7 separate regions of the Homo sapiens genome follow, and all the other regions are linked to region 2. The links are contacts of gene promoters, found by promoter capture Hi-C in blood cells and fetal thymus (Javierre and others, 2016). All regions are on one chromosome and are shown on one strand. The core of a region is centred on a gene start or on the middle of the fragment in contact, and the rest is flanking DNA. Distances in the headings are between cores, read along the strand shown.

Evidence for each region. Contacts are between HindIII fragments. The CHiCAGO score rates a contact against its expected background, and 5 or more counts as called.
Region 1: the fragment with the promoter of SLC44A1 here is called in contact with the fragment with the promoter of RNF20 in region 2 in 8 of 17 cell types (activated CD4 T cells, total CD8 T cells, total B cells and 5 more); the score reaches 15.6 in activated CD4 T cells.
Region 3: a contact is called between a fragment that was not itself captured here and the fragment with the promoter of RNF20 in region 2, in 2 of 17 cell types (fetal thymus and neutrophils). The highest score is 6.5, in fetal thymus.
Region 4: a fragment that was not itself captured here is called in contact with the fragment with the promoter of RNF20 in region 2 in 5 of 17 cell types (non-activated CD4 T cells, total CD4 T cells, total B cells and 2 more); the score reaches 8.2 in non-activated CD4 T cells.
Region 5: a contact is called between a fragment that was not itself captured here and the fragment with the promoter of RNF20 in region 2, in 6 of 17 cell types (total CD4 T cells, naive CD8 T cells, total CD8 T cells and 3 more). The highest score is 14.3, in total CD4 T cells.
Region 6: a contact is called between a fragment that was not itself captured here and the fragment with the promoter of RNF20 in region 2, in 7 of 17 cell types (naive CD8 T cells, total CD8 T cells, activated CD4 T cells and 4 more). The highest score is 13.3, in naive CD8 T cells.
Region 7: a contact is called between a fragment that was not itself captured here and the fragment with the promoter of RNF20 in region 2, in 1 of 17 cell types (total CD8 T cells). The highest score is 5.0, in total CD8 T cells.

Annotation. Positions count from the first base shown.
Region 1 is chr9:105,243,229-105,245,969 of GRCh38, reverse strand. SLC44A1 (solute carrier family 44 member 1) reads right to left here and starts at 1,319. Exons shown (of 16, transcript NM_080546.5): 1 at 1,066-1,319. The coding sequence starts at 1,101. It overlaps LOC112268038 (a long non-coding RNA gene), which reads left to right and starts at 377. Exons shown (of 3, transcript XR_002956866.2): 1 at 377-951. RefSeq lists silencers at 377-456, 797-936, 947-1,546 and enhancers at 1-772, 773-1,677. The HindIII fragment of the contact is 7,272 bases long and covers 1-2,741 here.
Region 2 is chr9:101,532,594-101,535,382 of GRCh38, reverse strand. RNF20 (ring finger protein 20) reads right to left here and starts at 1,530. Exons shown (of 20, transcript NM_019592.7): 1 at 1,469-1,530. It also overlaps a transcript of PGAP4 not described here. RefSeq lists an enhancer at 1,659-1,788. The HindIII fragment of the contact is 1,893 bases long and covers 1-1,651 here.
Region 3 is chr9:97,627,896-97,630,708 of GRCh38, reverse strand. All of the region lies in intron 1 of TSTD2 (thiosulfate sulfurtransferase like domain containing 2), which reads left to right. Among named protein-coding and RNA genes, the nearest start is that of TSTD2, 4.1 kb to the left of the region's middle. The HindIII fragment of the contact is 6,117 bases long and covers 1-2,813 here.
Region 4 is chr9:105,707,488-105,710,187 of GRCh38, reverse strand. All of the region lies in intron 2 of TMEM38B (transmembrane protein 38B), which reads right to left. It overlaps LOC107987107 (a long non-coding RNA gene), which reads left to right. Exons shown (of 4, transcript XR_001746868.2): 2 at 1,996-2,143. It also overlaps the pseudogene LOC100421293. Among named protein-coding and RNA genes, the nearest start is that of TMEM38B, 14 kb to the right of the region's middle. The HindIII fragment of the contact is 7,200 bases long and covers 1-2,700 here.
Region 5 is chr9:105,686,991-105,689,690 of GRCh38, reverse strand. No RefSeq gene overlaps it. Among named protein-coding and RNA genes, the nearest start is that of TMEM38B, 6.2 kb to the left of the region's middle. The HindIII fragment of the contact is 8,166 bases long and covers 1-2,700 here.
Region 6 is chr9:105,554,654-105,557,353 of GRCh38, reverse strand. It overlaps FKTN-AS1 (FKTN antisense RNA 1), which reads left to right. Exons shown (of 3, transcript NR_184141.1): 2 at 179-240. Among named protein-coding and RNA genes, the nearest start is that of FKTN, 2.1 kb to the left of the region's middle. The HindIII fragment of the contact is 2,062 bases long and covers 309-2,370 here.
Region 7 is chr9:105,404,021-105,406,720 of GRCh38, reverse strand. It overlaps a transcript of SLC44A1 not described here. Among named protein-coding and RNA genes, the nearest start is that of FSD1L, 43 kb to the left of the region's middle. RefSeq lists a silencer at 1,047-1,247. The HindIII fragment of the contact is 911 bases long and covers 984-1,894 here.

The DNA.
Region 1 (2,741 bases), core at 70-2,569, 3.7 Mb before region 2:
AGTATTCCTGATTGCTTTTTATAGTATTTGTAAATACACTCGCTAATCCACTAAATTAGGTAATTTACAAACAGGTCCTCTCAGTTATTAGTGGCCAGTAGTCGAGTTCTATTACATTTGATCCTCGTACAGTTGTCTAAACATTTCCACCCAGGTTAAGGGCTCGGATCCGAGAGAAGGAGGTTGGCGAAATTTGGATGGGGGCAGGGTAGAAGCTGAGAGAAATCTCTGCATCTCAGCCCTCAGCGACAACATTCAGCCAGTGCCCACAGAAAAACTAAATTCGGAACCTCTTCCTCCTGTTACACTGGCAACAAAGAGGGAGTTTCCGTAGCGCTCCCGTCACCCACCAGGTGCCCAATCTCCTTCCCAGCCCAGAGTCGGCGCTCCCGCAGGGGCCTCCGAGTGCGGGGAGGCCGCGGGGCCCGGGTCACGGCACTAAGGGGGGATGGGGTGCAAGCGAGCAAGCGAGGTCTGCGGAGCGGGCCGTGGAAGGGCTCCGGGACCCGCTGAAACCATCTGAACCCAGCCAGGGGGCAGCGGGCAAGAGAAAAGGGACAGAATATCTAATGAAGCAGAAACTGGAATTCGGTGGGAGAGGTGAAGAGCTCTTGCTGGGGGTACACCTGCGAGGAGCACAGAAAACGGGCGGCGGATGGCGGGGAGACTCCACGGAGGTGGAAGAGAGGAGCCAGGCCCGGAAGAACAGGGAAGGGGATGCCACCTGGGGCAGAGGAGGCGCCAGTGCAGCCTCTACCTGCAGGCGGGCGGGACGGGCAGCTCAGGTGTGACTGGGAGGAGGGGGCCGACTGGGGAAGGGGCCGGGAAGAGCTGAGGGCGCACTAGGCGCCGCGCAGAGGCGCCTTTGAGTCGGCAGCCGCGGAGCCAGCGCACGGGCATCGGCGGGACCCGGCGGACGGAAAGGCGGAGTGGGGGTCTTTGGACTGCACGGTGCGCTCAGGGGAGGCTGGGGACAGCGAGAGGTATCGGGCGGCGGGCGCCCGCCGCGCGACGCGGCGCACGGGAGGCATCCGGGCGGGCGGCCGGGAGGCGGGAGCCCCTCACCTGCGCGGCGGAGGAGGCGGAGCTGCAGCAGCCCATGGCGGGGCCGAAGGAGCCCGGAGGCGGCGCCGGGCGCGCAGCTACGCCCCGGAGCCCCTCGGCATGCGAGCCGGCGGGCGCCCGGGGAGGGCGCGGCCTGGCACCGCACGGCTAGGCGGCGGCGGCGGCTGCAGCGGCGGCTGGTACTCAAGAGGCGGCGCGGCTAGAGGCAGGCGCCGGCCACATCCCCCGGCGGCGGCGACGGCGGCTACGCGTCTCCTGCTCTGCTCCTGCTGCAGCAGCTGCTCCCCAGCGGAAAGGGGCGGGCGGCGGCGGCGGCGGCGCCTCCCTCTGTCCCCCCGCCTCCCGCCTCCCGCGCCCAGTCCCTCTCCCGCTCCCTCTCCCGGGCCGCCGCCTCCTCAGCGCCGCGCGCGTCTCCCATCAGACTCCCCGCCCCCAGTGCAGCGCCGTGCTGGTGGCAGGGCGGCGGCAGCCAGAACAAGGCCGGGCCCTTCCGCGCGTGTCAGAGGCTGCGCGGCGCCGGGCTTATTTAGCTGTGGCACCGAGGCAGCTCTCTGCCTCGAGGCTGGAGGGCAACGCGGTCTGAGGCAGCCAAAGACCGGGCCAACTCGCTGCCAAAAAGGGGCCGGATTGCTTCCGGATCTAGGAGGCAAGCGGGACTTCTCCCTCTCCCTACTGGACGCACAACTCAGGATCCTGATGGCTTCTTACCGCCCCGTCGGCTGTTTTTTTTCTCCAGAGGAAAGCGTACACAAGAAACCTTTCCTGGAGAAGGAATAGGTGATAAGAAGACGGGAAGAAACAAGCATCTGTTGCTACTGTCCCCATTTTGCTGATGTGGAAACTGAGGCTTGAAAGGGACCAAGAACCTAATGAAATGTTCCCAAGGTTGAAATGGTAATAAATAGCCAGAAATGAGGAAAAGGCAAAAAGTTATCCAGGCTCGCAAGTCAAAGCCATACTGGATCTAAGCTAAACTTTCTTATACAGGATAGTCTACAAAAAACAATAAGGGGACATTAATTTATTCATATTAAAAATACTTACTGAAGACACACTACGTTCCAGTGACTAGTACTGGGAATAAAGAGGCGAGCAAAAGAGACTTACCAAGTTCCTGTTGCTAAATCAGTAAGACTCAAGGAAGTAGCAACAAGTTAGAGTAGACGTGGTAACTACCTTCAAGAAATTTACAATTCCAAACGAGTCGTTAGGAAATACAGTATGAGGTGAAAACAGTTAAAAAGTGAAAGAAATAAAACTAAAGATAATGATGTTAAAAAAAACCCCACATTATCAGGCACTGTTATAGCCTTCATATGTCATTTCATCTTGTCAAAGAATGTCTCAAAAGACAGCCACAGGAAAGAAAAGAAAAACTTTATTTGCAAAGCTGCAAGGGAGTGAGACTTCCAAAAGGACTGATTCACCAAATATGAGACATCAAGTTTTAAAGATTAGTTAAAGTATAGAGGGAAGAAAAGAACACAGAATTAAATTGACTTTACATGCACTGAAAGGGAATCTAAGCCAAGGAAAGTTGGAATGGTAGCCTGTAAGGGGACAGCTACAGAAAGGGCCAGGGAAGAAGAATTCCTAATTGATGTTTTCCTATGCCATTTCCTGAGTTCGTGACTGTGGACGAGTTATCTCTCCAAATCTCATTGTCCGCTTCTGTG
Region 2 (2,789 bases), core at 281-2,780:
GCAGAAACTGACATAATATATGTAAGCAAAGCAACAATAGAGTAAAACAATAGAGTAAAAACTAGCAACTTTTCTGGCCAACCCTTTAACCTGGATCCATTAATTCCACAACCATCTCCATATTTCTCTTTGAGGAAAAAAAAAAAAAATTAAATTGTAGAGTAAAAGTCAAGGCGGGCCGGGCGCGGTGGCTCATGTCTGTAATCCCAGCACTTTGGGAGGCCGAGGCGGGCGGATCAAGAGGTCAGAAGATCGAGACCATCCTGCCTAACACGGTGAAACCCCGTCTCTACTAAAAATACAAAAAATTAGCCAGGCGTGGTGGCGGGCGCCGGTAGTCCCAGCTACTCGGGAGGCTAAGGCAGGAGAATCACTTGAACCCGGGAGGCGGAGCTTGCAGTGAGCCGAGATCGCACCACAGCACTCCAGCCTGGGCAACAGAGCGGGACTCCGTCTCAAAAAAAAAAAAAAAAGAAAGTCAAGGCTAAATTTACATGACTATAAATTTCTAAATAGGATGGTGATAAGAATGGTGATAAGAAATGAGACAATGGGCAAAGGGTGAAGAGACCAAAAATAAAGTTCTGGAATCTCTCTTCCTGTAATGCCAAAATCAGAAAAGGGCAGTTTGATTATGCCAGAAGTTAATACTACAGTGTTGAAAGAATCACAGAGCTGAAAGAGATCTGTGAAATGCCTACTAAAGTCATTAGTACTAGACAAGTCAGTTATCATCTCTAAGCCTCAGTTTCCTAACCCAGGAATAAATAACCACAGTATATACTTCCTATGCTTATTATAAAATAAAATGGATGATATAATTATAGAAAGAATTTGGCACAAAGCCGAACACAAAGTAAGCACTCAGAAACCCCAGCTCTTCTTTAACGTTTGCAGTGTTTTCCCTATTTCCAAACGCTCTCTCCACTGTTTTATGCAACCCTACGTTAGTTAGACCTGGGTGCGAATTTCAGTTCTGCCTGTTAGAGGCCGTGTTGCTTTGAAACAGTGAATTCGCCAAGAGCTTCAGTTTCCTCAACTGCACAATATTAACGAATATATTTTTCGTCTGCCCTGCCTACCTCCCAGGGTGCTCAAAGGAGGCGGAATGGATGCTAAAGCACTTTGGCTACTTCAGGAAACAACGCAGCCATCACCGAGACTAACAAGACTACTCTGCTTCCAATTCAAGCTCCAGGAGAGGACTATCGCTGGCAACAACCTCAGTAGGACCTCGCCTGGAGAGAGAAGACACAGAAGCAGAACAAGGCTGCAATCCAACTCGCTAAAAGCCAAAGACCTCAGCCTCAGCGTGGATAATTGCAGGCCCAGGAGACTGACGGCCCCAAAACTGGAGAGGGTGGAGACTCCTGAGGCCTGGCACAGTCCTGTTGGGCCCTAAGCGTGATCTAACCTAAGTTCTTTGAACTGGCGCCGCGCGGGAACAGAACTCGCAGCAGTTACTCACCAAGGCCCGTGCAGAGATTCCAGCTCTCACCCCTGACCCGCGGCGGAGACAAGGCAGAACTTCCGGGAGGCGGGGCCACGGAGAGGAAAAAGGGAAAGAAAAAAGGAAGTGGCTTCAACCCAGCCCATAGGACTATGAGACCCCGCCGGGCGGAAGTGACGTACGGAGAGGGCACGAGAAGCTTGAGCAAGCGCCGCCTCCCTAGCAACGCTGGGCAAGCGCGGGACCCTCTCCTGGCTACGACCTCTAAGAGTACTCGGGCCTCGCTGATGCCTGACGGAGAGCCCTTGGCTTTTGTTGACTTGTTGACCTTTGCTACTGCGATCTGGTCTTTCTGCGGGGATAAAGTTCCTCATTCTGTTGCTTGTCATTGGGGTTGCCATCACTCGTTCAGACGGCCGATTGGCTGACGGTCCCGTCAATCTCCGGGGACATGACTAGCCTCAGACACCTCAGAAAATTGTTCGTTGGTACCCCTACGTGCTGAAATGAAGAGTTCTGGAGAGAATCTGAGGGATTTGAGGAATTTCAGATGTTGGGGATTTTTTCCCCCGCACAGGGAGCGGTATTCTGCCCTGTCTACACATTAGAATCACTTGGCCTGGACAAAAGCTTTTTTAAAAAAGCGTTCCCCTCATCTCCTCCCCCCAAACCCCGCATTTCCATCCACTAGATTCTAATGCGTAAGCAGGAGTGACAACTACTGCCCTTGTGCTTTTTTGGGAACAAGAAATTGTCCAGGGAAAAGATAAACGCCAATCAGTCTCTGATCTCAGTACTAGTCTATTTTAAGCTAATTAAGCATTGATTTTTTTTTTTAAGTTTATGACAAACTGCTATTTTCCATTCAGTTAAACTAAATGCGTTTTAATGATAGGACGGTAATTAATCTAACCTATTAATGAAAAGCTGTATGTCTCGCAGAACTATGATAAACTACCTAATGACGTCAGCTAAGGGTCTAGAAATGGAAGAATGATCGCTATATCTTTTTTAAAAAATAGAATTTAGGCATCTTGGGAAAAAAAGAAGCTAATCTACACTGGATTTCTGTTAGTGTGAAGACTTTTGTCCCTGTACCTGCTAGGGCTTACCTGTAAATGAAGTAAGATGGTCAACACCAGGGAAACAAGTGTTCCTGGTGCCTGGCAGTGGAACACCTTGACTATCTTGGAAAGAATTAACTGGCCCCAAGTGGACTTCACATTTCATTCCGTGAAGTGGGAGCCTGAGAACATGTGAGTGGGGACACACCTGCCGAAAAGCATTGTATGAGACAATGACACTCATTCTCTCATCTTCTTTGGTTCCTCTACTCTTA
Region 3 (2,813 bases), core at 242-2,741, 3.9 Mb after region 2:
TCTGGTTTCATTGATATTACCTCCTCTCTCTCAATTATTTTGAGGCAAATATAGTTTTAAGTCCTTGGAAGTAGATGAGATCACCTGTAGGGTAAGTATAGATAGAGTGGTTCAACATTTAGAGGTTGGGGTAATAAGGAAGATCCAGCAAAGGAAACTGAGAAGCAGGGGCCGTTATCCCTAGCTGGTATTTTCATGATTTGTTTGTTTGTTTGTTTGTTTGTTTATTACTTACTTAATGTCTCTCCTTACCAGAATATAAGCTCCAAGAGAGCAGGTACTTCAACTGTTTCATTCATAGCTGCATTCCCAGGACTATTCCATGGGCCCGGCACATAGCAGAGGTGCCACAAATAATAATAATTCAGAGTATGTACATAAATCAAAATAAGCTGAGACTGAAAAAAGATGCAGAGTCGGAGGAGATCATTTTGGGGTGGTGGGAAAGGCACCCCACACTCAGGTGCAGAGACCTTGAGTCAGGAAAGAACATGGCTCATTTGTGGAACTGGGCATGGTCCAGTGTGGCTAGAGTAGGATATCTGATGGGGAATGGGGAGCATAGTCAGAGATGAGCCTAGAGTATAGGGAAACTAAGTTTTTCAGGCCTTCAAAGGAAGCAGTGACACAGGGTAGCAGACAAGACATAAGTGAAAGGTGACACTTGAGTTCAGTCTTCATATACATAGTAAGCATATGGGGAGGGAAAGAAGTGAAAAAGTAAGGGAAACAAAGCAGTGGAAAGCATAAATGCTGGGACAGACTACATCAGGTCATATAGAGGGAGATTGGAAAAGATGCTGGAGGTGGGACCGGATTGGATAGTAATTCCTTTCGACAATGTTACCTCCCAAATGTACTGCCCTTATAGGTAAATAAGTTATCTGTTTCTAGAACAATGCCTGGAACCTAGAAGACCCTCCATAAATATTTGTTGAATGAATTTTAATTTGGAAATGATATATGTACTTTCTCTACCTTTACAATAAAACAGCTTTGAGCATGGAGGAAGTGTGTTGAATAAGATTCTTCTACTTATTTTACTTCTGCCTGGAAGGCTTACAGGTTTGTGTAGAGTTAGGGATGTACTTTTTTCAGTGGGACTTTATATGAAAGACATTTTCATGAGAAAGGAAAGAGAAGCTAAAGAAGGTAGTATTTCTTCACCCAGTCTCTTCCACTTATTTTTCAAATACAAGAGAATTTAGGTTTAATAAATCTGTATTACCTTGCCTTACCCTTATAACAAAGCTCATTTTGAGCCCCATGAAAGCACCACTTAGCTGATTCAAATGCATTTTATGTGGTGCAAGTGACATCTTAATTTATGAATCCAAGGAACAAAGGTCCTTTATAAGAAAGTTGGTATTGCCTGTGTGTGTCTGTGTATGTTTAGTCTCCATCAGTCCTATCCAGCATTGTTAACAAGCAGTGTGTGTTCCCCCACACATAAACTGCTCCTTGTTGCCTTCACCTGGTTGAGGTACCCTGTAGGCAGAGTTGTGAATTGGCAAAGTTTGTCACCAGTGTCTCCCACCTTCCTTTCTCTCATTCTTAGTGGTGCTTTTTCTGCTCCCTCTTGTGGAGTTTGGGACTACTTTGCATGTTACTATTTTCAGAACCTTCAGTGTCCACCTCTGGCTGCCTCCTTCAATATTGTCCTGAAGAAACTAACTTTGCCAGTTCACTAGTAATATGAAATAACCAGTTGTTATGTTGTGGGGCAGGAATTTGGACAGGGCACAACAGGGACACCTTGTCTCTGCTCTCAGCTCAGAGGCCAATCTGGAATCTGAAGGGTCTAGTGGTTGATGCTGGCTGTCAGCTGGAGGCCTCTGTTCCTCTCCACCTGGTTCTCTGTGTGTGGTCTCTGCATGGGTTGGATTGGCTTACTCACAATACAGTGGTTTGGTCTCCTCAGCGTGAGCATCTCAGAATGAGAGCTTGCACTAGCGTATCCTTTTGAGAACCCAACCTCAGTCATACAGCATTGCTTCCATCACGCTTTATTTTTGGGAGTAGTTAACAAGCCTGCCTAGGCTTAGGGAAATGGACCAGAAATACTGCTGCAGCCATTTTTGGAAAATATAATCTGTCACAGCTAATTTTTAAATAAAATTTTAATGTTAAATTTAAAATACAGCATTCAATTAAAATATTAATAATATTACCATTCATTGAACCCTAGTTTGTGCCAGACACTATATATTAATATTTCTTTCCAGTCTACAGTACAGTACTGTAATGTAGATACTACAATGCACAATTTCCACAAGAGAGATTTAGAACTCAGAAACCTTAAGTAGCTTGCCCATGTTCACATGCTTGGCAAACTGCTGCAGCACAAACCAAAGCCCATACTTTTTCTCAGTGTGCCTCTTAGTGCTTGTCACCTGTCACCTTTGCTTTACAAAAGAACCAACATGGTATGATGGTTGTAGTGTGTCCATTTTGACAAGATTTGGCCACAGTAGCGATTTTGACATTTCTTCTGGCATATTACAGTGGGGCTGTCTTGGGAACTATTTCTTCTAAGGAAGGAAATTTTCATAGCTCTGAAATTAAGGGGCAAAAAGAAGAAAGTGTTTATAACTGAAGGTGCTGGCACACATCTTGATTGATTTGGGTTGTACCTGTTGCTTTTCTGGTATTATTTACCCTAATGACTGCATGGCTCGCTCCCTAATTCAGGTTTCTGCTCAAATGCTATTGCTGCAGAAAGGCTTTTCCTACTCTCTGTGTTCGAAGGGCTTCTCCATCACTGCCTCCCTACCCTGCTGATTATTCTTCATAACCTTTACACCATCTGACTT
Region 4 (2,700 bases), core at 168-2,667, 4.2 Mb before region 2:
GGGTGTGTGGAAGGTGCTGCAGTATGAATACTGTACAAATATTTTGACTCTGGTCTGAAAAGATAAAAGAATGTTATCGAAAACTACATGGAATAATTGAAGTCCCCTCAAGTTTGAAAGTAAGCATTTTAGGACAAATAAAAGGACATTCAACTTTGTACTTGCGGAAACTAATCCCTAAATATGAATAAGCGTATATTGATTCATGGGTAATAGGTCCATAATAAATTATTGGAAACTAGGATGTCTGAATATCAAGGAAGACAGCCGTAGTCTCTTACAGTGCCTCTGTTGGTCTGCCTCAAACTGATTTAGGTGGGAAAAGTTATGGTCCAATATAAAAGTTCCATTTTCGCCATTATTGGCAAATCTTGCCTTTGTTTATTTTGGTGTCAGTGTTTTCTGCTTAATCATTGGCTTTGTTGGCATCTGCGTTTATTTACTTGTACACCACATGCAGTTTACATCTTCCTTAACTACTCTCCTTCCCAGGTAAATTCCAATTATATTCGACATCCAGCTAAGAGGGCCCATCTCTTCTCACCTCTATCCTAGTCAGTATGTTCAGCAAATATTTATTGAGTGCTGACACTGTGGGCAAAACATTGTACTGGTTAATTGAGGAGAAAAGTAGATAATTCCCTTATTCAGTAAATGTCTACTGGGTACAATCTAGTGAATGATTACAGTATGGCCTAATTGTCTTGTTTGAGATGTATTATTCGTTACAATATTTTACACCATTCATATCTTAATATAATTATAGAACCCAATATACTATCAAAGATAAGTAATTGTGTGGTTATATGCCATTTAAAATTATCCCGTGTTTGTCTGATCCCATTATTACAAATAATTAAAAAATGATTTGTTTTAATCTGTAATAAACTGATTTATTGTGCAGTGACTGTAATATACTGGAGTTATATTAAATTGTTTACTCAGCCTCACCAAACACATACTAGGAAATAACCCCCAAAATAAGTATTTAACTTTGCATTAGATATAAACGAGACTGGGTGCTATAATTAGATTATTTTAAGGTAGACAGCTATTATCCCAACTGATGTAGTATGTTCTGTAATTGAGAAAATGTTCACCAAATTTTACTTTTTAGTGATTTACATGTACATTTTATAGGGGACATGTTCTATGTATAGTGAATAAATAACTTTGACAGTAAAAAAAAAAAAAATAGCCAACGTGGGAAACATAGTGAGACCTCATCTCAACAAATATAAAAATTTTAAACATTAGCCAGGGGCCAGGCATGATGGCTCACTCTCTGATGGGCTATTATTCCAGTATAGTTAGAGCAACATAAAAAAAAAAATCAACAGATAACATGTTGGATAGCAATAATTCTAAGAAGAAAAATAAAGAAGGATGATGTGATAGTCATGGGAGAGGAGGTGCTACTTTAGTCAGGGAAGGCCTCTCTGATAAAACAAAATATGAGACTTCTGAGGAAAAAAAGATTACAAAGAGAAGAAAGAAAGTACAAAGGCATTGAGGTAGAAGAATACCTTACGTTGGAACATTCAAGAAATAGCAAAGCTCATGTGACTAGAGCAAACTGAGCAAGAATAGAGTTGTAAGACGTTACATAAAAGAAAGTGAAAGCGAGTATTTTGCAGGGTTTTACAGGCCATGGTAAAAGTTTGGGATATTGTTCTTAATAAGATAAGAAATTACTGAGCACATGAGTGACATGTTCTAACTTAAGTTGTCCCTCAGTATCTGTAGGGGACTGGTTTCAGGATTCTCCTTCAAAATCTGTGAATGTGAGAGCCCCTATATAAAATAGCAGAGGATTTGTACATAACCTACACACATCCTCCACTACACTTTAAATCATCTCTAGATTATTTATAATACCTAATACAGTGTAAATACTATACAAATAGTTGTTACACATTATTGTTATTTGCATTATTTTTATTGTTGCATTGTTATTTTTTATTGGATTTTTTTCCAAATATTTTTGATCTGCAGCTGGTTGAATTCAAGCATGCAAAACCCATGGGTATAGAAGGCCAACTGTAATAATTTTGTCTGCTCCATGAAGAATAACGAATAGACTCAAAGGGATAATCAAAGAAGCAGCAAGACCACTTAGGAAGCTCCTGCAATCATCCAGGAGGTTAGTATTATAGGAACAGAAGTAGAAATAACAGAAAGTATCAAATTCTGGATATCTTCCTTTTTGTATAGTTTCAGCATCTATACACATCAAAAAATTCTTCCAAAATGCTAATAACTTTTAAAAATATTGTTATAGAAATAAAAGTCTTTGGGAAAGTTTTTTAAAACACATAGCAACTGGAAGACTACACTTTAAGAGATGGTTAAACAAATCTGTGAGAGATAGTGGCTACAAAGTGTGAAGACTCTAAAGTTAAAAACTTCTTGTTTTGATTCTAGCTCAACCACTTACTAGACAAGAAAGTTATAGCAGCATTTCCCTATGCCTCAATTTTATCATTTGTCAAATGGAAATAATAATAGCTACCTTATAGTACTCCTCTGATTAAATATAACAATGAATATAAAGAACTTAACTGACATATCGTAACAACTCAACATTGCCATAGGTTCCCAGGATTACTTTTTCCCATTGCTACTATTATTTGTAATATCCCTTTTAGAACTGGTTACATATTCATTTTAAAATTATCACAATAAAAATGAACTGTAAGT
Region 5 (2,700 bases), core at 179-2,678, 4.2 Mb before region 2:
CTCTTAGCCTCTGGGTCCCCCTATTGAATATTGCCAGGAGAAAGACCCTGTCCTGGCCTGGGACAGCTGTACACTCCTGGTTAATCAGTTCTGATGGGAGGCCGGGTCACGTGGTTCAGATCTGATGCATCCCTACATATCAGAGGCAATTTCCTGAAAAAGGAAGGAGCGGCTGGGTGCAGTGGTTCACACCTGTACTCCCAGGACTTTGAGAGGCCAAGGCAGGAGGATCGCTTGAGCCCAGGAGTTTGAGACCACCCTGAGCAACATAGTGAGACACTGTCTCAAAAAAAATAAAGAGAAAGGAGGGAGCTAGGCAGACATCCCAAGAGATGTCTAGTATAATCATTTTCTTTAACCTGTTTATTTTATTTTATTTATTTTTTAATTTATTTATTTTTCTTTTTTTGAGGGTGAGTCTTGCTCTGTTGCCCAGGCTGAAGTGCAGTGGCGCGATCTCAGCTCACTGTAACCTCTGCCTCCCAGGTTCAAGCGATTCCATCCTCCTGAGCAGCTGGGATTACAGGCACCTGCCATCACGCCCGGCTAATTTTTGTATTTTTAGTAGAGATGGGGTTTCACCATGTTGTCCAGGCTGGTCTCCAACTCCTGACCTCAAGTGATCTGCCTGCCTCAGCCTCCCAAAGCACTAGGATTACAGGCGTGAGCCACAGCGCTCGGCCAACCCATTTATTTTAAAGTAGGAAACTAAGTGCTAGAGAGGTCACCATGGGCAGTGACAGACCAAAATTTGTTACTATTCTGTTACAATCAGTCTTCCCTATGTACTCCTACTAGGTTTTCTCCTGTCTAACAGAACCCAAATACTTCTTTTGAAGTTTTCCTTTACAGAGAGATTCAGCATCCCTACAGCAATGAAAAGGCCACCCACCAGATAAGGGCCAGGAAGACCAATTAGTAATCATTAGTAACCCCATCCCATTCTTTGACATTATCTCAGCAGATCCCATTGCTTTGTTGTCATTTAAGATTTCTTTTTCTTTTTCTTTTTCTTTTTTTTAAGACAGAGTATCGCTCTATTGCCCTGGCTGGAGTACAGTGGTAGGATCTTGGCTCACTGCAACCTCCACCTCCCAGGTTCAAGTGATTCTCTTGCCTCAGCCTCCCAAATAGCTGGTATTATAGGTGCCTGCTGCCATTCCCAGCTAACTTAAGATATTTTTTAAATAAAATAAAAAGTCCAGTCCAGTTAAAACATCCATCTTACATGCAATATAGAACTTCTTTCCTCCCATTTGCTCAGGACTGCCTGTCTCAGAGACTTTGATGGGGCAATGGGCATGGTGGAGTCCTCCAGCCTTTCTTCATCTTCTGCTCCTTTCATCTGCTATGTCTTCTAGGGTTAGGGCAGTGAGGAGGGAAATTAGAGAAAAGGAACAGAAGACTTTCTAGTTGGCAAATGTTGGTCATAGTTTTTGTTTTTTGGTTTCTTTGTCTTGGTTTGCTTTTGGCTATTGATATTCTTCTCTATGGCAGGCTGTCAATGCAGACTCATTCATGGGGTTTATTTGTGGGTTCCCCAATGATGCCATGGAGCTCACACAGCAAGATCTCCTAACCTCTACAGTTAAGGCAGACACCACTGGTTGAATAACCCAGCACACATATTCAACTCTGTGTATCCGGTTAAAACATTAGATATAGTTTGTTCAGCCTCTCAGCAAGGTGTGAACTTGTGTTAGGATACTGGCAAATAAAACTTCAGGGGACCTAGGTTGACATGCTTCTGAAAACAAAGTAAGGAAAAACAAAGTTGAAGGACTGACACTGTCCAGCCTCAAGATTTACTATAAAGCTACGGTGATAATCAAGACGTACGATATTGGTGAAAAAATAGAAAAATAGATCAATGAAAATATGTGGCTTCTCTGATAAAAGGGACTATGCCCTTGACATTGGCCCTTCTCCTTGTCTTTCTGCCTAGAGCTAGGGCAGCCATGTTGTGACCATGAGAGAAAATAGCAGATCATTGAAGTTATCAACTGTCCTTCTCAGACTTCCTGTTACGTGAAAAAATAATTTCTTATCTGCTTAAATAGAGTCTGAATTGGCTTGGGGGAAGTTAGCACCTCTTTCTTCACAGGGAGAGGAGTAGGAAGGCAAAGCCTCTAGCCCTCTGAATTCCCTTCCATGAATTTCCCTTCAAATTCTTGACCTCTTGGATTGTTGAAAGTGAAGTTCACTAGGCCAGCTGTTATATTTTATTAAGTCCTGCATAGACAGGGCTTAATTGTCTTTTCAGAATGTAGAAGTAGCATCTTTTGTCTTAGGGGATCTAATGGAATTTCACGATAAATTAGCATCTTGTTATACTAGATGACAGGCAAAGGAAGGAGATTAGAAAATGGGGTGGATGACGCCAGGTGTGGTAGTTGATACTTACAATCCCAGCACTTTGGGAGGCCAAGGTGGGAGGATTTCTTGAGGCTAGAAGTTTGAGACCAGCCTGGGCAACATAGTGAGACCCCATCTCTACAAAATGTTTAAAAAATAGCCAGGAGTGGTGAGGTGCACCTGGTCCCAGCTACTCGGGAGGCTTAGGTGGAAGGATCACTTGAGCCCAGGAGTTTGAGGCTACAGTAAGATATGATCGTACCACAGCACACCAGCCTGGGCAGCAGAGCAAGACCCTGTCACAAAAAAGAATAAGATGGATGGGTGAGGTTTGAAAGAAAATGC
Region 6 (2,700 bases), core at 90-2,589, 4.0 Mb before region 2:
TCACTAAACCAGTTACTGTAATTATAATTTATTTCTACAAAACGGAAAATACTCCCATCATATATTTGTTTTCTAAGCTTTGTTTTTAATTCTATCAGTACAGAAAGAAAAGGAAGAAAAAATCTTCCTCACTTCCTACAGGTTATGACATTTACCAACTTTTTGTTTTTCCTTCCAGAAATTTCCTATGCACATACAAGCTTACTGTTGAAGTCCTCTCATCCAATGCACTCAGAACGGGTAGGTACTCAGTAGGTTAATAAAAAAAAGTGGAAGGTTACACCAAGAGGAAGTAAGTTATCAAAGCTTAATGGCATCATTAACACAGGTGCTAACGTGATGGGACATGGGAAAACTTGAGCATCACATACTTGCTATTGATTGAAACACATCAAATATAAAAATTCTTGAGTTTATAATGACTCCTTAAAAAATAAAATTCAGTCGTGATTGAAGATTGCCAAGTTGAAGATTAAATATTCTAAAACTTGATAAGGGAAAACATCAAGCATTTATCCTGCCTTTCTTGTATGAATTGAATTTTAGTGTAACCAAAGTACTTATAAGAGTTCCAGCTAATAAATGGAGGATGATAAAACAATCACGATTTTGTAACTCCTAATAAAATAATCGAAAGGGCAACATCAATAGATGATAAAATTAAGGTGAAAGGTTGATGGGGAACTTTATAATAGACTGGCATCACCTAAACCCACTGATCTTAATCTCACTAAATTTGGGACAAGCATATATTATGTACTTCCTGATGTGATAGAAAGTACACAGCCACACCTGTGAAGGATTCTTGCCTAAAAATTGAACCTGCATTTACTCAAACTCTAGATCTAATACAGGATATAGAGAAGCAACTAAATTCAGAAAACGGGACATTCTACCAGACAAATTCCTCAGTTTTTTTCATAAATGGCATTTAAAAGCAGAGGGAACTATTGTAAAATCAAATATTTAAGAGATGTAACGGAGTACAATGTGTGGACCCTGTCTAGATCTTGATTTGAACAAGATAACTGTAAAAAGATACTTCTGAGACAACTGAAATTTTAGTATGGACTGATCCATTAGATAATAGTACAGAATTACTGTTAATTTTGCTAAGAATGTTAACAGAATGTGGCTGTTTTTAAAAGCCATCATGGATGCATATAGCATACTTACAGGTGACATTTTAAAACAAAATAGATAGCACAAACATGGCAAAATGTTAACAATTGATTAGGTGATGAGCACAAAGCACTGGCTTTCTACTTTTCTGTATATTTGGAAATTATAATTAAAAGTAACAGGAAAAGGGAAAAATTATCAGGTTCTTAGAAATAAATACTTTCCAAGTGTATAACAAATCTAGTTCTGAATAAACCTTCTCAAAAAGGCAGTTTCAGTAGAGGGTTACAATGGCCAATCTTCTGTTTTGAACTAAGTTCATTTTAAGCATGGACCAGCTGATTAGAGTATCTCACTGTTTTTCTTACAAAACCATAGACATAATGCATCATCCATCATTTGTAGTTTCTGTTTCTGTAAAATGGACCAGGAACTTAAAGATACAAGTGAAGGAATATAAATTTGGAGTCCTGGAATTTATTTTTAAAAATCTTCCCCTATCACTCACAATTACTTTGGCCACAACTAACTTTGCAACTTTTTAAACTCTTCATCTCTAATGGTTCTCGTACTTTTCTTATAAGTACCTTTTCATACTCATTTCATATTTATTTTGGTTTATATATTTATATAATTGGTTTACATACTTACATGACTACAACAGTGACTACCACCTACATAAGCAGGTTTGGGAACAAACATAACTGAAGGTAAATATACAACTAAACTGGTGGCAGTGTTACTTATCAAGCATACTGAAAGGTCAAATGTGAGCCCTCAGCTCATGGCAAACGTCAAGTCAGTATGCTTTAATCTGGATAGCAAATACAGCTGAAAGAGTGGGTACAAGGATGCATAAAAACAGCCTCTCTTACAAGTAAATATTCATGTTCTATAAACCACTCAGCTGTGCACACATGTAAGGATCCTGGCCGACTCCTAACATTTGTAGGGTCTGGGCCAAGAATACAAATGAAAGCCAACCCTGACATATTTTCAGTGTCTAAATAGCTGAGCGTTAACCAACAAATAAAATGTTATACTCTTCTACTTTAACATGTATTCTCAAGGAACAGAAATCTAGGTTCAAATATGCGATTCGCAGATTCTTCAGAAGTGTACTAGAAAGTGATACTAGGTTGGCCTGCCCTTCCCTGATCCCCTGGGTCTCTTTTTACTTCTAGCTTAAGCCTGCCACAGGGGCCTATCATGCATGCATGTGGACAACTCAGTCTGCACATCCAAGCTTCATCTGTACTTCCCACAAACTGCCAGCCATAGGGGTATATACATCTGTAGTAGTCTTTTTTCAGGATGGATTTGGACAAAAGGCCTGCACATATCCTGGAAGCAAGCTTCAGGCTGATGAGGCAAGGAATCCTGGGGTTCTGGCTGATAACATAGTATAGAATTCTGTGGGTAAAGGAACATGGATTCCAAGTAGGCATAGTCCCTTGGCTCCTCAATTTTTCATCCCATGAAGAGAGGCACAGCAAGAGTGTGGGGATCCGGTTAGTTAGCTTACCTTAGGTAGGTAACAAGAGAAGGGTCCTGGAGAGCCCCTGGCTCATGAGTCAG
Region 7 (2,700 bases), core at 190-2,689, 3.9 Mb before region 2:
ACCCGGGCTGGAGTGCAGTGGCTCAATCTCAGCTCACTGCGGCCTTGAACTCGTGGGCTCAAGGAAGCCTCCCACCTCAGCCTCCTGAGTAGGTGGGACTACAGATGCACGCCACCATGTTCGGCTACTTTTTCTATTTTTTGGTAGACATGGGGTCTCACTATGTTGCCCAGGCTGGTCTTGAACTCCTGGCCTCAAGCAATCCTCCTGCCTCAGCCTCCCAAGGTATTGAGATTATAGGTGTGAGCCACCACGTCTGGCCAGTTTCTGTTAATTTCTACTGTTAATAGGCTGTACTTTCTTATTTCTTTGTGTACCTTGTAATTTCTTGTTGTTGAAAACTGGACATTTTGCATATTATAATGTGGCAACTCTGGAAATCAGATTCTTCCTCCTCCCTAGGGTTTGTAGTTGCTGGCTTATTGTGGGTTATCGTTGTTTATTTGTTTAATGACTTTTCTGAACTATGTATTGTAGAGACTGTATTCTTTGGTGTGTGTGTGTGTGGCCACTGAAGTCTCTGTTTTGTTAGTTTATGGTCAGCTAGTGATTTGACAGAGTTTTCCTTAAATACCTGGAGCCACAAAAAAAAAGAGATCACCTTCCAGTCTTTGCACATTCATTCTTTATGGGGGCACTGCTTAACCCTTAGCAAGACTGTTTACAACTCTGCTCTAGCCTTTACTTCCTGCTTGCATCGAAAGGTTAGCCAGAAGCGAACGTTTGTGGTCTTCTCAGGTCCTTCCTGTGTCAAGCCCTGGGCATGTGTGTGGCCTTGGACATTTCCTAGTATATGCAGGAGCTTTTGAAAGCTGTTATTCCTCCGTGTATGTCCTTTTCTAGCCTCTTCTTTCCCAGGCTTCCATCTGTCTGCCGTTTGCCGCATCTGTTATTCTTCACCACAGGTTGCTGCAGCTAGTATATAAGCCTTTAAGTGCCATTGACAAATGTCACTTGGGAGATCACTTCAACCCTAAGAAGCTTCTGAGGCATGTGACACAAAGATAAACCCCTGAGTTGATCATTCAGGGAGCCACCAGACAATTCAAAACACACAACCACAATTTTTTTTTTGAGAACAAGGTCTAACCACACATTGCTTACTTGGGCATTGGCAAGCCACATCAGAAACATGAGCCACCACTTTCACAGATGCTGCTAAGCTGGTGAGTGGAGATGGTATGCAGATAAGTTAACATGCCTCAATGCTCTTACTGAAATGTCTTTATTTAGCATTTGCCTAGGTGTGTAAGTTCTTTATTAGATTCTAGAATTTGGTAAAAATTGATTGGACAGTTTTTGTCAATTTGATCATCGTTTTTGTGGAATGATGGAGTTTTGGAATTTCCTGCTCTGCCATTTCAATCATATCATCCCACCATTAGCTTTTTTTTTTTTTTTAAATGGAGTCTTGCTCTGTCGCCCAGGCTGGAGTGCAGTGGCACATTCTCGGCTCACTGCAACCTCCGCCTCCCCGATTCAAGAGATTCTCCTGCCTCAGCCTCCCGAGTAGCTGGGATTGCAGGTGCCCGCCATCACACCCAGCTAATTTTTTGTATTTTTAGTAGAGATGTAGTTTCACCATGTTGCCCAGGCTGGTTTCAAACTCCTCACCTCAAGTGATCCACCCGCCTTGGCCTCCCAAAGTCCTAGGATTACAGATGTGAGCCACCGCGCCTAGCCACCATTAGCTTTTATACATAAAACTAGCGTGGAGACTCTAGCTTGTTCTGTTCACTTTTATATTCTTGGCTTCTAACACGTAGTAGGTACTCATTAAATATCTGTTAGCTAATGAATGAGTGAAATGAAAAAATTATCATTGTCTTACACAATCCCTATAAAACATGACTATTCCCATTTTACAAAGGAAGATCCTGAGCCTCAAAAAGCTTTTGTGGCTTTCGCAGGTTACCCAGCTTCTACAGCAAGAGGCAGAGACAGATTCAAATCTATATCCATAGTGCCAAACCTTTGTTCTCTTCCTTATACGATGCTGTCTCCTTTAGGCATCAGAAAATAAGGAGATAACAACTCTGTTGTATTTAACTGCTTTCGAAGCATATTCCTATCCCCTAAGTTCATTTATTTATCATCGTAGTCCTACAGCACAGGCTGAGCATATAACATTTTATAGTCAAGAAAATAGGCAGAGAGGACAAACAACCCATGACTGGACTGGAGGCACTGGCAATAAATTCAAATACTCCAAATCCTACATCAGTGCTTTTTCTGTTATTTTATCTTGTCTCTTTATGAAAGTAAATACGGCTTCATCTTAAAGTGGTTCTTTCCAGGTGAAAAGTAAATTATTTTCCAATGCAGCATTGCATGCAAACCAGGACCTGGAGATTCACGCTTCACTCCTGTCTTTCTTTCACTTGGCCCCTTACACCAACCAATCATCCGTTTTTGATGATTCTATCCCTCCATTAGCTTTTAAATATATCCCTTTCTCTCCATTCTTTTTTTTTTTTTTTTTTTTTTGAGATGAGTCCTGCTCTGTCACCCAGGCTGGAGTGCAGTGGCACAATCTTAGCTCACTGCAACCTCCGCCTCCCAGGTTCAAGCGATTCTCCTGCCTTTTCTCTCCATTCTTATTGCTAGTGCCCTAGTTGGAATTCTCATTCTGAATCACATGGTATATTTACAATGGTCTCTTCACTTTGTTTTCCTGGCCCAGAAGCAACTCACCCCATG